Linked DNA regions of Homo sapiens: region 2 is linked to region 1. Evidence: promoter capture Hi-C in human tissues and cell types (Jung and others, 2019). All regions are on one chromosome and are shown on one strand. The core of a region is centred on a gene start or on the middle of the fragment in contact, and the rest is flanking DNA. Distances in the headings are between cores, read along the strand shown. Region 1 holds the start of PTPN23 (protein tyrosine phosphatase non-receptor type 23). Region 2 has its middle 21 kb from the start of MYL3.

Region 1 (2,700 bases), core at 163-2,662:
GATCCGCCCGCCTCGGCCTCCCAAAGTGATGGGATTACAAGCGTGAACCACCGCACCCGGCATCGTGGTCTCCACATTTCATCCAGAACGAGTCAAAGGCCTTGACCTCGAGCTTAACACGGACCTGAACCTTTGCTCTTCCCTTGTTTTCCCTTATCAGTAAACAGCCCCACAGCCACCCACCTGCACAAGCCAGAAGCTTGGAAATCATATTCGACGTCCTCATGCCCTTACATCCATCCATTCCAAGTTCTGATACTTTTGTCTCCAAAATATTCCTCAAATATTTCTCAAAGTGGGCAAAATATTTCTTTGCTCACTTTTTACTTCCCTCTGCTCCAAGCCACAATCACCTGTCTCCTGGAAGACTACAAAAGGCTCACTGATCTCCCAGCTCGCACTTTTGCACTCACTATCTCCAGGCCATTCTCTGTTATTTCTATTGTTACTATTATTATTTTGAGACGGAGTCTCGCTCTGTCGCTCAGGCTGGAGAGCAGTGGCAAGATCTAGGCTCACCGCAATCTCCGCCTCCCAGGTCAAGCGATTGAACCTCCAGCCTCAGCCTCCCGAGTAGCCTATTATTTATTTCTAAAAGTAGGTGATACAGCCATATGATTTAACAATTCCTGCTCTATAGGTCCCCTCTCCAGAGGCAACAGGTGCTCTCCATTCCGTGGTCTCCTTCCAGATACTGTGGGCGTCCCTGGGTGCTCACCTGGCCGTATACCTTCCCCCACCCACTTCCCCACAGGGCCCGGGGCCTCCTCACTCCGCTTGAGACCCTCCATCCAGGCGCTCCCTCCCTATCGTCCGTCTCCCTTGGGCACTGCCCGGCCTCCCAGGCTGGGCTGAGTAGGCCAGTCTCCGGTCAGTGATTCTGTTCCAAAGCTCGAAAGCCTTCGCAGCACTGGGACTGAAACCCCCAGCTCTCAGCCCCGACTCCTTCAGGCCAGGTGCTCCCTCCGCACCCTCTCTAAGGCCCGTTTTCGCGTCATCTCTTTCCAGCGGCCCGCCCGCCACGTCATCTCTACCACAGCACCAGTCCTCCACGGCTCTTGACAATACGTGGGAGGGCAAGTTCATAGGTGAGGTCTCATGCTCTTCCTAGGAGGGAGGAGCGCGGCGGGCGGGACCCGCAGCTGGGCTTGGCCCGGGAGCGGGGAATAAGCTCGCTCCGCGCCTCTCAGTTTAGTGGATGAAGACTACTATCCCAGAAGCCGTTTCGCCTCGGGCTGGCGAGCTCCTCCCCGCCCTACTCCCTCCGCGCGAAGAAGACTGAGCATGCGCAACAGGGACAGCGCCTGCGCAAAAGACTACGCGAGCGGGTGGCTGGGTTCACTGCAACTCCCGGCAGGCCGCTGGCATTTTTCATTCCCTCCCGTGACCAGTGACTTCCGGCACGAAGGGGCGGGGCTGGGCTCGTGGCTGAGCCAGCAGCTGCAGCAGCTACGGGAGTGGCCGGGTGGCCGGCGGGTGCCAGCCGCCATGGAGGCCGTGCCCCGCATGCCCATGATCTGGCTGGACCTGAAGGAGGCCGGTGACTTTCACTTCCAGCCAGCTGTGAAGAAGGTGAGCTTGCCTTCCATCTTCCCCCCTATCCGCCGCGTATCTCCGTCGTCTGCAAGCGCGTGACGCCCCCCTGCGCGCCCATCACCTCCTCAGGCCCGGTCGCAGGGTCCGGTGAGGCCAGGAGGGGCCTTCGCCGGTTTTCCTCAGCCTGTCCCACACCCCGGCGCCCGCAGGCCATTCTTCTCCTCCCCGATAGCCCCGTGCTAGCACCTGCATCTTCATCTGAACCCGGTTCCCGACTTCTGCCCCGAGTCATCCGCTGTTCCCACTGAGGCAGCACACTTCCTCCTTCTGACGCTCGGACCCAGTTCTGCCCCGCCCCTCCTCCATGCCAGGACCGCCCCGCGCGGGAGCGGTGGGCGGCCCTGACCGTGCGGATTCTTTTGCTGCGCCCGGCCCTCGGTGCGCTGTCAAGTCCACGCCCGCCTGGGACAGACACTGGGGATGGCTCAGGGGCGTGTGTTTAAGACGTGAGCCCCGGTGGCCCAGGGAGATGCCCGACCCCTGCGGTGAGGGTTTGTTTTACAATTGCTGCGATTCTGTATGGTCTCCCATTCGGGAGTCTCTTTGGACCAAACAATACAATCCCACGACATTTTTAGGAGGGTTACTGCTTTTCGTAACCGACTGGAGGGCATAAACAGTGTTGTAGAGCTCAGAGAAATCTTACTGTGTTGGAAGAACAGACGGGCAGGTTTGGCGTTGACTAAGGCAAGGAACTTCTGTGGAGAGGTTCAGGTGTGGTGATTGAACACAGGTGCCCTCCGAGACATCCGCTGTATTGGTAGCACTGAGGGCTAGAGCAGAAATGAAAAGGAACAACCAGGAGGCCGTCGCAGGTGGGGGGCCTTGTGGGCTTAGCACAGCAGATGCCAGAGTAAGCCCCAATCTAGATGGTGCACCACTTAGCGAGACGCTTGGGAAGACAAATAGGAAAAAGAAAATGGGTTTGGAAGTAGTTTCCCAAGAAGCTGTCTCCCCTCTAATCGCCATACACCATTGCCTTAGTTCAGACAGTGTTTGAGTCCATCATCTAGCCTCTTGGGGCCAGGAAATGAGGGTAATTGATCCAAAATTCTAGAATTTTGTTAACGGTTATCCAGACGTTGCTCTCTTCTTCATCTGCTG
Region 2 (2,700 bases), core at 140-2,639, 540 kb before region 1:
TAGTGTGACAACTTACTTGAAGGACTGAAAGAAAAATGTTCAATCCAGAATGTTATATCCAGCAAGTCCATGTTTTTAAAATGAAGATGATGAAAGTGAGACATTACTACTGATTTTACAGAAATAAAAAGAATTAAAATAGAATACTATGAACACTGTACACCAATAAACTGAATAACCTAAAAGAAATGGACGAATTCCTAGAAATACACAATCTACCAAGATTGAACCTTGAAAAAATAGAAAATCTGAGTAGACCTATAACTAGTAAGGAGACTGAATTAGTAATCAAAAATCTCCCAACAAAGAAAAACTGTGGATCAGATGGCTTCACTGGTGAATTCTATCAAACATTTAAAGAATTAATACCAACTCTTCTCAAACTCTTTCAAACAATTCAAGAGGGGGAAACATTTCCTAACTCATTCTATAAGGCCAGCACTAGTCTATTACTAAAGCTAGACAAATACATTATAAGAAAAAACTACAGGTGCATATTCCTTATGAACATTGATGCAAAACTCCTCAGTCACATACTAGCAAAATGAATTTAGCAGCATATTAAAAGGATTATACCCAATGGCAAGTGGAATTTTTCTTTTAATGAAACTAGAGATGGGCTCTCACTGTATTGTCCAGGCTGGTCTTGAATTCCTGGACTCAAGTGATCCTCCTGCCTTGGCCTCCCAAAGTGCTGGGGTTGCAGGCATGGGCCACCATGCCCAGCTAATCAAGTGGAATTTATTCCCCAAAAGCAAGGATGATTCAATATACAAAAATCAATCAATGTAATATGCCACATTAATATAATGAAGGGGAAAAAATCACTTGATGATCTCAATTGATACAGAAAAGCATTTGACAAAATTCAACACCCTCTCACGATAAAAACACTCAATAAACTAGGAATAGAAGGAAACTTCTCCAATGTAATAAAGACCACATACGAAAAACCACCATCTAACATCATGCTCAATGATTTAAGACTAAAAGCTTTTCTCTCAAGATCAGGAACAAGACAAGGATGCTTACTTTCACCACTTCTATTCAACATTGTATTGGAAGTTCTGGCCAGAGCAATTAGACAAGAAAAAGAAACAAAAGGCATCCAAATTGGAAAAGAAGAAGTAAAATTATCTCTGTTTGCAGGTGCCATGATCCTATATTTAGAAAACCCCAAAGACTCCACCCTAAAACTCCCACAAAAGCCTGTTAGAGATAATAAACAAATTCAGAAAAGTTGAAGGATACAAAATCAACTTATAAAAATTAGTTGCATTTCTATAACTGTGAATGATCAAAAAGGAAATTAAGAAAACAATCCCATTTACAATAGCATCAAAAAGAATAAAACACTTGGGAATAAATTTAACCAAAGATGTGAAATACCTGCATACTGAAAACTGTACAACACTGCTTGATGAAATTAAAGAATACTTAAATAAATGGAAAGATATTCCATATTCGTGGATTGGAAGACTTAATATTATTAAGGTGACAATAATTATCCAAATTAACTCAATTCAATCCCTATCAAAACCCCAATGACTTTTTTTGGCAGATATAGAAAAACCGTCCTAAAATTCATTTGGAATCTGAAGCACCCCAAATAGCTAAAACAATCTTGAAAAAGAGAACAAAATTGGAAGACTCACACTTTCTGATTTGAAAATTTACTATAAAGCTATATTAATTAAAACAGCATGGTATTGGCATAATGACAGACATACAGACCAATGGAATAGAGAACCCAGAAATAAACCCTCTCATATATGGTCAAATGATTTTCAACAAGGATGCCAAGAGCATTCAATGGAGAAAGGACAGTCTTTCCAAAAAATAGTTCTGGGAAAAATGGATATCCACAAGCAAAAGAATAAAGGTAGAACTTTACCTTACATCATATACAAAAATTAACCCAAAATGTATCAAAAGCCCCATGTACGAGTTAAACTATAAAACTCTTAGAAGAAAACATAGGAGAATATCTTCATGATATTGGATTTGGCAATGATTTCTTGGATATGACACCAAAAGCACTGCCACAAAAGAAAAAAGTAGACAAACTGGACTTAATAAAAATTGGTAGCCTTTGTGCTATGAAGGACACTATCAAGAGAGTAAAAAGATACCCCACAGAATGGGAGAAAATATTTTCAAATCATATACCTGATAAGGGATTAATATCCAGAATATATAAAGAACTCCTACAACTCAAAAACAAAAGGACAATTCTATTTTAAATGGGCAAATAAATTTGTAAATAAACCTCTTCTCCAAAGAATATAAATAATGGCCAGTAAGCACATGAAAAGATGCTCAACATTGAGACACTCAATCATTAGGGTAATGCAAATTAAAACTAAAGTGAGATAACACTTCATACCCACCAAGATGGTTAATTAAAAAGAAACGAGCAGAACAGAAAATAACATGTATTGGAGAGGACATGAAGAAATTGGAATGTCGTGCCTTGCTGGTAGGAATGTCAAATGGTGCAGTGACTGTGGAAAACAGTATGACAATTCCTCAAAAAGTTAAACATAGAATTACCATATCATCCAGTAATTCTGCTTCTAGGTATATACCCAAAAGAAGTGAAAGCAGGGATTCAAACAGATACGTGTTCGTGTACCCAAAATCTGTGAATATGTTACTTTACGTTGTAAAAGGAAATTTATAGATGTGATTCAGGTTCAG

What was found. The method cuts DNA at HindIII sites, captures the fragments that hold promoters and counts their contacts. A contact is called where the count stands out against the background at its distance.
Region 2: a contact is called between a fragment that was not itself captured here and the fragment with the promoter of PTPN23 in region 1, in 2 of the 25 tissues and cell types used here (lymphoblastoid cells and mesendoderm cells).

Annotation. Positions count from the first base shown.
Region 1 is chr3:47,379,609-47,382,308 of GRCh38, forward strand. It overlaps PTPN23 (protein tyrosine phosphatase non-receptor type 23), which reads left to right and starts at 1,413. Exons shown (of 25, transcript NM_015466.4): 1 at 1,413-1,572. The coding sequence starts at 1,489. PTPN23-DT (PTPN23 divergent transcript) reads right to left here and starts at 1,884. Exons shown (of 1, transcript NR_185912.1): 1 at 1-1,884. RefSeq lists enhancers at 799-1,476, 986-1,045, 1,216-1,435, 1,477-2,152. The HindIII fragment of the contact is 13,956 bases long and covers 1-2,700 here.
Region 2 is chr3:46,840,731-46,843,430 of GRCh38, forward strand. No RefSeq gene overlaps it. Among named protein-coding and RNA genes, the nearest start is that of MYL3, 21 kb to the right of the region's middle. The HindIII fragment of the contact is 6,369 bases long and covers 1-2,700 here.